Regions from separate parts of the Homo sapiens genome. Here regions 1, 3, 4 and 5 are each linked to region 2. Evidence: promoter capture Hi-C in 16 types of primary human blood cells and fetal thymus (Javierre and others, 2016). All regions are on one chromosome and are shown on one strand. Each heading gives the region's core, a stretch centred on a gene start or on the middle of the fragment in contact. The rest is flanking DNA. Distances are from core to core; before and after follow the strand shown.

Evidence for each region. Contacts are between HindIII fragments. The CHiCAGO score rates a contact against its expected background, and 5 or more counts as called.
Region 1: a fragment that was not itself captured here is called in contact with the fragment with the promoter of INHBA-AS1 in region 2 in 1 of 17 cell types (neutrophils); the score reaches 5.2 in neutrophils.
Region 3: a fragment that was not itself captured here is called in contact with the fragment with the promoter of INHBA-AS1 in region 2 in 1 of 17 cell types (neutrophils); the score reaches 5.1 in neutrophils.
Region 4: a contact is called between a fragment that was not itself captured here and the fragment with the promoter of INHBA-AS1 in region 2, in 5 of 17 cell types (endothelial precursors, M1 macrophages, M0 macrophages and 2 more). The highest score is 10.2, in endothelial precursors.
Region 5: a fragment that was not itself captured here is called in contact with the fragment with the promoter of INHBA-AS1 in region 2 in 1 of 17 cell types (neutrophils); the score reaches 6.4 in neutrophils.

The regions. Positions count from the first base shown.
Region 1 is chr7:41,131,357-41,134,056 of GRCh38, reverse strand. LINC01449 (long intergenic non-protein coding RNA 1449) reads right to left here. Exons shown (of 6, transcript NR_110832.1): 6 at 556-833. The region is part of intron 1 of LOC105375241 (a long non-coding RNA gene); the gene reads left to right. Among named protein-coding and RNA genes, the nearest start is that of LINC01449, 31 kb to the right of the region's middle. RefSeq lists an enhancer at 1-75 and a silencer at 1,871-1,950. The HindIII fragment of the contact is 5,556 bases long and covers 1-2,700 here.
Region 2 is chr7:41,692,629-41,695,328 of GRCh38, reverse strand. INHBA-AS1 (INHBA antisense RNA 1) reads right to left here and starts at 1,410. Exons shown (of 4, transcript NR_027118.2): 1 at 1,241-1,410. All of the region lies in intron 2 of INHBA (inhibin subunit beta A), which reads left to right. The HindIII fragment of the contact is 8,944 bases long and covers 1-2,700 here.
Region 3 is chr7:41,030,381-41,033,080 of GRCh38, reverse strand. It overlaps a transcript of SUGCT not described here. Among named protein-coding and RNA genes, the nearest start is that of LINC01450, 52 kb to the right of the region's middle. The HindIII fragment of the contact is 8,480 bases long and covers 1-2,700 here.
Region 4 is chr7:41,008,887-41,011,586 of GRCh38, reverse strand. It overlaps a transcript of SUGCT not described here. Among named protein-coding and RNA genes, the nearest start is that of LINC01450, 30 kb to the right of the region's middle. The HindIII fragment of the contact is 250 bases long and covers 1,261-1,510 here.
Region 5 is chr7:40,990,752-40,993,451 of GRCh38, reverse strand. It overlaps a transcript of SUGCT not described here. Among named protein-coding and RNA genes, the nearest start is that of LINC01450, 12 kb to the right of the region's middle. The HindIII fragment of the contact is 2,169 bases long and covers 191-2,359 here.

The DNA.
Region 1 (2,700 bases), core at 198-2,697, 560 kb after region 2:
CTATTTTTTCTTTCTCTCTTTTCCTCATGTAAGAAACAGCACCACCAGGAGCAGGGACTTTCGCATATACAGTAAAAATGTACAGTATCTTCAATGCAAAGTTGGACGCGTGCCAACCCCCTCCCCCTCCCCACTCAGAAGCATCTTCATTTGAATTTAAAGGGGTGGATGAGTGACAGCAAGACTCTGTTCTCCTTCTGACAGGGCTTTGGCAGATCATTGGTTGTCATCAAACCTATTCCATTTCTTGCTCCCTGCCAGGAATTCCACCTACATGCCTGATGGCAATTAGTCCCTTGTAGGTGCTAATGAATAAAACGCAGCACGTAGACTTCACGAGGATGAAAAAGCCCACGATCCAGATCCAGAGAGTCACTCCAAGAATCAGTCCCCCACCCCGGCCCCCCCTCCAATATAGCTCTCACTCTGTCCAGCCAAATGCTAGAGCCAGCCAGCCACCCCCCGCCCCCACCCCCTTCTTCTGTGCACTTGGCCATGGAAAATAGAAAGCAGCTATTTGATGAGGACACAACTAAGCAGAAATCAAGATTTTAGAGCACGAAGTATTACTTGTTTTTCAATTTCTGTCACAGGCTGGGATGATACCAGTTTAGGACAGTCTGTGTCAGAGCATTTGAGCTGAATCTCCAAACCCAAACATGCTTTGGAAGAAGCATTTAGAGACCTTGTTGGGAAGCATTCTGCACTGAGTGGGGGGGTGCGCGTTGTATTATCAGTGGTTCCCAAGACTTGCTGATAATCAGATGTTCCTAAGCGGCCTTTAAAAGTTCAGATTCTTCGACCTTGTCTCTGGATATTCTTGGTCAGAAGGCCTGGAATAGAACCCGAAAATCTAAATTTTAGAACAATCTCCCCAGATGCATCTGATGCTCACACTAGATTCAGTACTTCTGAATTGGCTAAGCTCTTGTGTCCCATTCATCTCCAGCACTAGGTGTTGATTGAAAAGTTCTCAAAGGTTGTGCTCACCATTCATTTGCACCTTGACTGTGCTCTGAACATTGAAAAAAAAAAAACCAAAAAATTCTCCTTTGTAATCTGACCACCTATCAGAGGTGAATTAATATTCAAAGATTCTTTTGAAATTGAAGCTGTAGGTGATTTTTAAATTTTTCTTACACTTTTATTATAATTTTCAAATGTTACACCTTTACTGAATAATAAGCAGGGTTTTTCTAATAATAAAAAGGCAGCAAATGTAATTTTTAAAGATCTTTTTGCATTTCAACAGAAACTGATTGGCTCACAGAGAAAACTGTATTTCAGTATAATTCAGTTTCTTTAAATCCTATATGTTTTTAGTACAGGCACTGAAAAAATGTTACTAGGAAAAGGGTTCCTGGAACTCACCAGACTTTCCCATTGACAGTCCAAAGAGTAAAAGGGATTAAGAACCCCTGGTATGCCAAAAATTAGCTTATTATTCCTATTTTGCATGTATACAAGTATTGTCACCCTAGGATTTCAAAATACATCACAAAACAATTGCAGCTAAAGCCTTGGAGTGACCTGTGCTTGCAGCATGGTCTCTTCTAATGGTAGCAAACCAAAGAAAGTGGTAAGAAAGAAATTTTTTCTTCCAGTTTTCATGGGCCCCAAAGGTTAAGATAGCTTAAATAAGACTCCCCAGAGCATTCAAACTCCCTCATGTTTATCAGAAAGAGAACTTAATCCAAAACCTTTGAGGTTTGTCCTTCTCTAGTCAATATCTATTTCGGCAAAACAATCATGGTTCTAAAGTATAACAGTGAAGCAAGGAAGAAAGGAGAGATTTTTCTTTCTGATAGTGAAATGGGCAGGTGCAGTTGAGACGGAAAGGCCATAATTAACACATTGTTCAGCCAAGGCACTGTAGACGTCCATGCAAGACTGCACAAATCCTCCCCCTGCCCCACACGCCTGAGTTCAAGGTTTTGCAAGAAAGGAAGCCAAAGGTGCCCTGCCATTCAAGAAACAGACCCCTAGAGCCTGAACTTCAGTACCCTCGAGGTACACACAGAGGAAATTCTACACTGCCAAGCCAGTAAAATTGGATTGTGTAAAAACTCGTGCATTTTAAACCACATAAGAAAGAAAAGGAAAACACTTTTTAATTGGACATATAGTTATGTGGCAAGACTTATACATGTATTGGAGTTTTAAAAATCTAATCAGATAAATATTGTTATTTCTATGATATAGATGAGAAATTAAGCCTGGAAAGTTATGTAATTTATCCAATGTCAGACTCTCAATTACTTTATTTTTAACTGGCTGAATCCTAGGACAAACATTGACTACCTTTATCTATGATCATATTAAAGCATTGTAGACTAAGAAAGGTGGCTAGCACAGGGTTGGAAAATTCCTCGAACTTCCTCTCATCCCATACTTGTGGCAGACCTCATAAATTTGAAGTCTGTGCTATTTCTTTCCCGGCCCAGAAAGCTGCTCAGTGGAACATTTCAGGAAATCACTACAAATCAGCTATAGCCAGCACATAGGTGGCACCTGGAGTCCAGGGCAGCCAGGTTCAGGGGACAGGATGGGACTGGAGAGGGAGCAGGTAGAGCTGGTTGATAGGAGCTGCCCTCCCCCCCAGCCCCTTAGCCTCTTCCCCAGGCTCTATGGAAGGAAAATTCTATAGAAACTCCTTATACCTCTTAAAATATCACCTAAATCATTGACAAAAATACTATT
Region 2 (2,700 bases), core at 161-2,660:
CAGACGCTTTTTACAGGGAGGCTTCCCCCAGCCCCCATCCCATGGTAAGTTTAAATGTGTTCTATAAACAACGAGGCTTTCCACATTCACATTAGAGACATAACTATTGCCCATATGTAAAAGAGCAACATATTTTAAGCAGGACCCTGGTGAGGAAAACAAAACCAAATCGAAACACTGCATGTGTGTGTTGCTTATTTAACTGAAAATGTTCATAGACCCACAAATCTGAGATGCTGGACTTTTGGATGAGTCCAGCATTTTGCATCTTAGTGTAGGGGGAGGGAACAACAAGGGGCTTAGTTGCTTAACCCTTGCCATGCCTTCATGATTGACTTATTCAAAACATTTTTAAAATTCTGAAAGCAAAGGAAAATGTGCTGCAAACACCCTTCCAGCTATCTTTCCTTCCAGCTTACACAGTCTCTCCTCTGTCCAATCCTTCCCACCCAGCAGCATTTCAGAGGTATTCCCTGTGAGGTACAAAATTTCTCTTTGCCCATTTTTCTGCACCTCTTTTTCTCTCTCTTTGGTATGTGTCCACCAAGCTCATAGAGGTTTAAGTGATGAAATATTATCACCCACATGGGTTTGCGTGGGACTTTCTTAGTGAATTACTCAGGCAGAGCAGGCTGTGATACAGCCTTGCTCACAAGCCTCGGGAGGGAAAAAATAGCACAGAGGATGAAAAGAATATTATTAGAGAGCAGGTAATGAAAGGTTCGCAAAGCAACCAGCTATATCTGGTTAGCTAGGTAATAGTGCAGGAACCTAGGTCGCACCTGTACAAACTAATGCAGAACCTGCTCACGGCGCACTATGGGAAGACATTCATTTCAAGAGTTTACAGCATGAGATATTTGAGTAAAACCTGAAACTGATTAGAAATTGATCCTGAACATCCCAGCCTTAGTCAACCTTCCCTTTTTCAAATTGTTATGCATGGAGATTGGAGGATTGGGGCATCTTGAAAGTGTCACTGCAGTATAGCAATCTCTCTCAGGTAATATAGAGATAAAGGGAATATAATAAATTGACCTGTTATTTATTATCTTTTTCATACCTAGGACATTCCGAGGCTTAATATATTTCTGAAGCCTACAGCCCTGATAAACATCAATCCCACGTCAGTTTCCAGCAGTCTCATCTCCCCACACCCTTCTGCAATGAAAGCTAATGTAAAAGAAAGAAATATGCACTGCTTAATAAGTCAGAATACAATAGAACTTGTAAAATGTACCTGCATATAAGGTAGACATTAGGAAGACTTGAATCTCTCTCTTCCCCCTGTTCTCCTGAGCATTATGGCAACAGCATTTTCATGAAATTAGATCTGTTTTATATTTTTTCCTGATAAAATATCATGCAATATACAAATAGCAGTTCCAGAAATGGACACCAGGAGAAGGAGGCGACAGGCATGTCAATTAGTAGGGGGAAAATCCAAATGTCAGAAATATGGGGGAGAGAGAAAGCACGCAGGCAGTGGATGCAAATACAGGGAACAGAGTCTTTCAATTCAGATAATTAAACGGATGCATAAATCAGCACCCTTGCCTCTCTACAATACGCAGGCGATGCCATGCAGTTAATTATCAGCCAAGACCAGCATGAAAGTCATTTTATGATGACTCTCTGATCCTAATATAACAGCACCTGACAGATTGAGCCCCCTCTAATGAGTACTCTCTTTGTACAATCCTCTCTCAGGAACACTAAATCATTTGCTTCCAAGTACAGCTGCCTGTGAAGAAGGGGTGGGGCTAGATCATGCATCAGAAACCTGCTCTTGTGAAATCAGGGGCTGTCCTGTAGGCTGTGTGACTGGAAGCCAGCAGCCTCAGCCTCTCTGGCCCTAAAAAAGCAATTTGCACACGGCTGTCCCTAATTCTAGTCAGCCAAGTAACCCTCCCTCGGCACCCCCACCTAAACATCTGTAGTCAGCCTTGGGTGTTATTCATGGAAAGTCCACTGCATGCGGGTCAGCACTGCTGTCCATCGGCTTCACCCTGACCCCTTCTGGCAGGTGTGGATGAGAGTAGAGCAGAGCTCATGGGGATGAGTTACCCCAAACCTATTAAGCCTCCCTATCCGGGGCACTAGTCAGACACTCCAGTTTTACACTCTTTCCTAGAAAAACAAAACCCAACCTTGTGCCCTCTGGGTTCTCTAATTTAGCAGCTACTATCTGTCTGTTTTTGGAGTGACACCCTGTGCAGTTTAGGATTTCAGAAGCTGTCCTGCATAGAGGCAGAAGGGAAAACAGCAGGTATCTTGTTAACATTCTCTATGGGGCAAGGCAGATGTGCCCAAGCTGGAGGAAACCTGCACACCCTCCAGGCTAGTTATCCAAGGCTTGGGAGGTTTCCCTCGGCCTTCTCCTAAGGCCTTGGCAGGACCCTGCCACCCTAAAATCAACTGCTGATTGCCTTTTTAGATTTAAATGATTAAGCTCTGCTTATGGGAATCTTCTTCTCTTTTATTTTGTTAAGAAACAAACAACAACAACAAAACCCACACCAATTCTTAGCAAAGGGGAATATCGAATTCAGATTTTGAAAAAATAAGTCATCATGCTTCCTAAAATAAGACAGCTTCTCCCTCTAACTGCTCTCTCTGCTCTGGTATTCTATCTAATCATAAACCCAGCTTTATTATTCATTTCAACTCCTGCCAAAGACATGAGGTCGGAGTCAGAGG
Region 3 (2,700 bases), core at 142-2,641, 660 kb after region 2:
TTAAATTGGGGTGTTTTTTGGCCCCACGCAGTGGCTCATGCCTGTAATCCCAGGACTTTGGAAGGCCAAGGTGGGTGGATCACAAGGTCAGGAGATCGAGACCATCCTGGCCAACATGGTGAAACCCTGTGTCTACTAAAAATACAAAAATTAGCTGGGCATGATGGCATGTGCCTATAGTCCCAGCTACTCAGGAGGCTGAGGCAGGAGAATCGCTTGAACCCGGGAGGCAGAGGTTGCAGTGAGCCAAGGTCTCACCACTGCACTTCAGCCTAGCGACAGAGTGAGACTCCGTCTCAAAACAAACAAATAAACAAACAAAAACTGGGGTTTTTTGTTTTTACCCCACTGAAAAGCACTCACTTCAGGAGCCTAGAGATAAAGCTCTGTGTCACTCAGAGGTGGCATTCTGCATAGAACACAAATTAGTCTCCTGTGGCTTAGCCAGTTTATTTTTCTCTGATGACACATCTGAAGGTAGGCTCCACCATATTTTTAAGGTTCAAGGCTCTTTCCGTCTTTCTGGTCTGACTTTCTTAGAATGTAGTTGTGTACTTACAGTGAGTCTACTCTTGCCTTTCCTTTACATTCCAGGCAAAAAAAGAGGAAGACAGGCAACAGGAAGGAAAGGATACCTTCGTATCAGGAAAATGAAACTTTCTCTGAATCGCCAGCAATCTTCTGCTTCTCACTGGTGAGAATTGTCTGAGATGGTGAACTCCACTGAAAAAGAAAAAAAAAAAAACATGAGAAATGTAGCTTTTATTTTTAAAATGTAGGACATTGTCCCCTTGAACAAAACTGGGATTCTATTAGCAAGGAAAAAGATGCACATGGGTACTAGGTAGGTAACCAGCAGTGTGTACCCCAAGTCTGGAGATGTGCACTTGGCCTATCTGGGGAAGATAATTCTTTTGTTGTGTGTATTTGCTTGTTGGTTTAGTTCTACAGCCCTTACAGCTGTGGTGTGAAAGGCAATAATATGAATTTCCTGTCTTGTTCATATAATCCCCCAGCTTTTAGCATGTGCTTCAAGCATCTTCAGTCTAATTTTAGGTTCATTCATTCATTCATTCATTCATTCATTGAGACCCTACTAGATACTGGGCACAGGGCTCCACTCCATGAGCATGATGGAGTGAAGCTGGCTCCTATACTCATGAGCTTGCATTCTAGTAGAGAGAGGAGGATGCATGATCAGGTAAGTACAAGGTGGAGAGAAGAGTGCCACAACAAGGGAAGTAAATGATGCAATGGGGCACACAATATGCCAGGCATGCAGCCCATTAGGGGTTAGGGAGGGTGCTCAGAGAAGAGTAAGAGAGGAAGGTAATAGAGATGAGTGGGTGGGTCATTCTAGGAGAAATGGTAAGTATGATCTAAAGAATTTGGAAGAAGAATGTTGGCCTTCTGGAAATTTTGAAAGTTCAGAATATCTGAAATATAGCCTTTGAAACAAGGAAAAGCCAACAGGAGGTAGGCAACGGTCAGATCGTGATGCCCTTGTCCAGAAAGCACAGGGAGCCAATGACGGGCTTGAAGTGGAAGTCACAGATGGCCACAGACAGTCATGCTGTAACCTTGACCTGTCTGGAAAAGACTATTTTTACCACTGTGGATCAATCAGTTGAGACAATTCCATTCCAAATGATTTTGTTCTTACTTGGCAAAGCAACTGGGTAGAAAACAGATAATTTTCTTTCTCAGTCCTTTTTAGCAGTACTATGCAGACACAGCTTCCAAAATTCATAAATCAGAGAGCCCAGACCATATTGCTAGCATCCTCACCAACCTGTGACATTTCAGGCCATCATTTCAGGTTTCAGTGAACTGCCCTGCCGAGACTTGGCATAAGCTATTAGCATAGAAGACAGAGAATTCTTGATTTAAATAATCCTATGGGCCAGCCTGGGTAACATAGTGAGGCCCCATCTCTACACAAAATTTAAAAATTAGGCCAGCGTGGTGGCTTGCATTTGTGGTCCTAGCTACTTGGGAAGCTGAAGTGGGAAGATCACTTGAGCCCGGGAGACGGAAGTTGCTGTGTGCTGAGATCGTGTCACTGCACACCAACCTGGGCAGCAGAGTGAGACTCTTATCTCAAAATAAACAAATAATCAATCCTGTGGCACTTGGTTCCTACTACATTATCTACGATGCACTAATATGTCCTCCAACTATGAGTAATCATTACAGCACTCCCCTCTGTATCCTCCTCCCTTGGGGGTGGTCTGACCTGTTTCCTCCCTTTCTCCTCACTCACCACCCTGGGCTACTCCCACAACTCAGAGGCAACGATCTCACTTCTAGCCAATGAAGACTCACCTTGGAATTAACTTTTTATCATAACTGTAAAGACCAAACAGAAATGTCAGCATACATTCAGAATTTATAATGTATGATTAATCCAGGATGGAAATTGGGGTGGTGTGGGAAATCCTTAGATACTAAATAAAAATGTGTGAAAAATTCAAGCAGCAGATAACTTGGAAATCTAATCTTAAAATTTCTCAGCAGGAAAATGTAAAGGGAGGGACGAGAGGAGGAAGTAAAGAGTGCAAGGAAACATGTAAAATGAATGTTTATTTGCTTATTATTTTATAACCATCCTCTTTATGTGTATTTTCCAGACTGTATGTTATCACTGCCTTAATGGATGAGTCAAAAATCAGAAGGGTTAAATGAACTCCTAAAGGATGA
Region 4 (2,700 bases), core at 136-2,635, 680 kb after region 2:
TGGGAAATATTGTTAAATCAGATTCTTATTTAGTAAGTCTGGGGTATGGTCTGAGTTTCTGCATTTCTAACAAGCTCCCCTAGAGGTTGGGGGATACCCCAGTTGGGGTACCACACTTTGAATAGTGGGGGCTCTAAGAAATAAATCATACTAGCAGAAGAGACAAAGATTATTACTTTCTCCCAATAAAGCAGCATCTGTGTCCACCTTCTCACTTCCCTTTTGTCTTCTACTATCTTTTCTGCATGTTCTAATTTGTGGCTGAGGCTAAAGAAAGGATGTACAGTAGGTACACACGAAACCCCAGGTTTGTACAGCTCCCCTCTTCTGAGTGCCTGCTTGTTCTTCTATCCGCCTCCCTCTGCCTGATCTCATCTGGATGGCTGGACTTCCTTCCTCTCCAGAGGGAATTCCACTGAAACAGCTGCTTCCTCCTCATGCGTGTCAACCAGTGTTCTTATAGAACTGTCATAATCTAGAGCTTGGAATCGAGCATGAGAAATCAGCAGGTCCAGGCTTCTGCCCTCAGTAAGTGAATGTCCAAACCCTTCAAAGGGAAAGATATGCCTATTTTCCTCACCCAAACCACCATCATTTCTTTTTGTTTGTTTGTTTGTTTTTTAACCATTCATATTTTCAAACATCAGCTGTGGGCCTGGCTCAGTTTGAGACTCAGTCATCAAGACCATATTTGGATTAATTTCGTTCCAGGTCAAACATTCCAATTTAATACATTTATCCCATGATTTCCTAATGCTATCAAATGACACATCGTTTTATTTTTTTTCTTTGTTTTTCTCTTTCAACTAATTTATTTAATGGGTCCAAAATGGGTGATTACAGCACAAAAACATGTGGTATCCTAATTGGATTTTGAAAATGTGTAAACATGGCCCTCCGGTGGCTTGCTATTACCATCTGGACCAAATATAAACTTCTGACCATTGCCTTCAAACTCTCCTTCACCCAGCACCACCCTATGGCCACTCTCATCTGTGACTTCTCCTCTCCAAGTTCCCTCTGTTCCAGCCAGACTGTGCTTCTTGTTTTTCAGAACCAGTTTCTCAATTTCCGCTTCAAGGCCTCTGCCTGAACTGGTCTACAGAGAAGGAACAAGTTCCTACCTTCCATTCTCTATGCCTTTCAGAAGGCTTCTCAGATTTCACTCCTAGAAATGTTTCCCAAACTAATCCTATCCATTTTTTTACTCCACTATGATCCCTACTTCACCTCAATGTCTGCAATTATTTGGGCAAAGCTTGTGTTTTACTCGTGTCTATCTACGTGGCTCATTGAGTCATTAACAGTAACAGTAGCAGTGGTTCCTACGTGTTGGTATCTAAGCCAGGTTCTGGGGCTCCACTGTGAACAAGCAATCAATGTACTTAATATCACAGTTTACATTCAGGTTTGGGAAGGTGGATAATGAGCAATAAATGAACAAACAAAAATTTCAGATGGTGAAAAAGTTCTGCTGGGTGGTGTGAGGTTAGAGGGCAGGGAGCAAGCTTCCTCTTGATCTGAACTCTCCATCTCTCTGAATTCACTTTACAAAATAGTACACATCCAGCGCAAACACATGTAGGCTCACTTGGTTGAGATGCACACATCAAAGTTTGCATGTGAATACAGCACATATCTCAAGGGAAGTTTCTTTGTGAGGCCAGTCATGCCTGGGGAAATATCATCGAAGAGAGTGATCACTGATTTCATTGATGAGAAGGTACTTTTCTGCAGTCTTCAGTATAGCCCAGAGTTTCTCAAACTTAACACATCTGGGGTACTTGTTAAAAGTCAGACCACATAATGAAAACATTGTACTATAGCTTTTAAGGGACAAGAATCAGGACACTGAGATGGATGAATGGGTGGGTGGATGGAAGGAAGGATGGATAGTGGATGGAAGGACGGATGGATGGTGGATGGAAGGAAGGATGGATGGTGGATGGAAGGAAGGGTGGATGGTGGATGGAAGGAAGGATGGATGGTAGATGGAAGAAAGGATGGATGGTGGATGGAAGGAAGGATGGATGGTGGATGGAAGGAAGGATGGATGGATGGTGGATGGAAGGAAGGAAGGATGGTGGATGGATACATAGATGGACCCAGTTACCCAGTGCTCTAAGTTAGCAACCAAATTCACAAGAAGATTCATGGCTTTACCTGTCCCGTGGCACTAGGCCTATGATTTGGGAACCTAAACTCAGTTCAGTCTCCTTCCTCTAATTTTTATGAAGAAACATTTTATTCATTGAGCCCTGGGTATAAAAATCATTTTGAGAATTAATAATTAACATAGATTCATAGACTGTGAAATCGAATCTTTCATTCCATTGCCCATCATTTAACATATAAGTTGCTTTTTTTTTTTTTTTTTTAGAGAGAGACATTGTCACCCAGGCAGAAGTGCAGTGGCACTGTCATGGCTCACTATAACCTTAAACTCCTGGGCTCAAGCCATTCTCTCACCTCAGCTTTCCAAAGCTCTGGGATTAAGGCATGATCCACCATACCCGGCTAAATTGCATTCTTTAGAACTGCATTTTCCCCAAAATAAGTCACTTTTAAGCCATGTCCCTTTTTTGCTCATACCACAGGACATTTAATACTACTGGAAACAGAGATACCATCATATTCTCGCAAGACCCAACAAGAAGCCACCATGCATCGGGACCAGACACCATCCCTTCGGGTGGGACC
Region 5 (2,700 bases), core at 26-2,525, 700 kb after region 2:
GATTCTACCAACACTTCCTGACTTTTGAGCTCAGGTCCATTTGTAAGCCTCTCGCATTCAGCTCTGCAGGGTAAGCAGACAGCATCAGGGCATCTCCTTTACCTCCCATAATTGAGCTCTCTTCCTCCATAGAGTGAGCAAACACAGTGCACAGAACACTGAACACATCTAGGATTGCCTTGGAAAAGCTTGCCATTTAGTGGGTAGTAGAAAGACTTCTCAGGAATAAAAATAAGGGTGATGAGGTCTGCCCTCATTTGTGATCTAGAGCATTTTAACCCAAGAGGTCCACAAACCAGAAGATCCATATGACCAGGAGGCAGGGGCTAGTTAGAAACAGAAACTCAGACCTCATGCAAGAACTCCTGAATCAGAATCTGCATTTTAGTAAGATCTCCAGGTGATTTATGCACATATCCAAGGTTGAGAAACCTATACCAGGGAACCAATTTCCCTTGAGCCTGCATACAAGGAGGTCTGTGCCCTAATTCCTCCTTCATTCTCTTACCTGTCCCCTCCCCACATAACTGTGTCTGTGTCCACAGTCCTCTCTCACAATGCTCAAGCCTCACAACACTCTTGCTCTTGAATATATGCCTTAAATTCTCACAACAGCTCATAGATATGTTTTCTTGTACCCACATTACAGGTACTGAAACTGAGGTCCAAAGAGAAAATAACTCACCTAGGGTAGAATTACTGCTAGGTGTGGCTGTGCCTGGAATTTGAAGCTAGGCTTGGCTCACTCCAAAGCCAAATCTCTTCCTATTATAACCAGAACTACTTCATACATACCTCCTATGGCCCATTTTTCCCAGAAAAACCCTTTTCAGAATATGGGGAAGCAGTTTTCACAGATCCTATAGACCCACAAGAGGGATACTTTTGTCAGAGGTATTTGAACCAGAGCAACTCCATCTTGAATAGGGACTCGGTAAAATAAGGCCGAGACCTACAATGGGCTGTGTTTTCAACAGGTTAAGGCATTCTTAGTCACAAAATGGGACAAGAAGTCAGCACAAAATACAGGTCGTAAAGACCTTGCTGATAAAACAGGTGTGGTAAAGAAGCCAAAACCCACCAAAATCAAGATGGCCATGAAAGTGACCTCTGGTTGTCCTGACTGCTCATTATATGCTAATTATAACACATTAACATGCTAAAAGACACTCCCGCCAGTGTCATGACAGTTTATAAATGCCATGGCAATATCTGGAAGTTAACCTATATGGTCTAAAAAGCGGAGGAACCCTCGGTTCTGGAAAATGCCCACCCCTTTTCCGGAAAACCCATGAATAAGCCATCCCTTGTTTAGCATATAATCAAGAAATAACCATAACATAGCCAACCAGTAGCCCTCGGGGCTGCTCTGCCTATGGAGTAGCCATTCTTTATTCCTTTACTTGCTTAATAAACTTGCTTTCACTTTACTCTGTGGACTGATCCTGAATTCTTTCTTGCAGCAAGAAAGAATTCCCTCTCTTGGGGTCTGGATTGGGACCTCTTTCTGGAAACACATTCTCTGGCAGTTCAGATGTTCCCCTCACCACTGTTCTTGCCACAAAATAGCTGAGAAAACTCAGCTTCCATCTTCTAACACCATGCAGAAGAGGGAAAGGCTCTTCTGATACGTGCTCGTCCTGGAGGTATTATCATTTATTGGCCCAAGTTGTTTCATGCCCATTCTTTCCCAATCACAGGGGCTGAAGGTGAAAATACTGAAACACTTAAACCAATATGGGGGCATTCCTGGAGCTGCAGGTGGGTCTTCTCACCAGACACATGGTCAAACGGGAGGAAGTAAATTCCCTCCGGCCTGCCTCACCCTAAACAAATCAAGATACAATAGATGAAGTGAGAACGTAGAGGCATACTTCACTTTATTGTGCTTCATTTTATTGCATTTCACAGATACTGCATTTTTTACAAATTGAAGGCTTGTGGCAACTCTGTATCCAACAAGTCTATCGGTGTCATTTTTCCAACAGCCTGCACTCACTTCGTGTCTCTGTGTCACATTTTGGTAATTCTCAAAATATTTCCAATTTTTCAAATTATTATTATATCTTTTATGGTGATCTGTGATCAGTGATCTTTGATGTTACTATTGCAATTGTTTTGAGGTGCAAGGAACAGTGAAGATGGCAAATCTGATTAATAAATGTTGGAATTGCTCTGACTCCTCCACCAACCAGCATTCTCCATCTTTCTCCATCTCCTCAGGCCTCCCTATTCCTTTGAGACACCACAATACTGAAATTAGGCTAATTAATAACCCTGCAATGGCATCTAAGTGTTCAAGTGAAAGGAAGAGTTGCACATCTCTTTCTTTAAATCAAACGCTGGAAATGATTAAGCTTAGCGAGGAAGACACGTCAAAAGCTGAAATAGGCCAAAAGCTAGGCCTCTTGTGCCAAGTAGTTAGTCAAGTTGTGAATGCAAAAGGAAAGGAATGAGAAAGCAAAATGACTTATTGCTGATATGGAGAAAGTATGAGTGGCCTGGACAGAAGATCAAGCCAGCCACAACATTCCCTTAATTTAAGCCTAATCCAAAGCAAGGCCCTAACTCTCTTCACTTCTGTGAAAGCTGAGAAATGAGGAAGCTGTAGAAGAAAAATTTGAAGCTAGCACAGGTTGGATAATGAAGTTTGAGAAAAGAAGCTCTCTCAACATAAAAGTGAAAGGTGAAGGAGCAAGG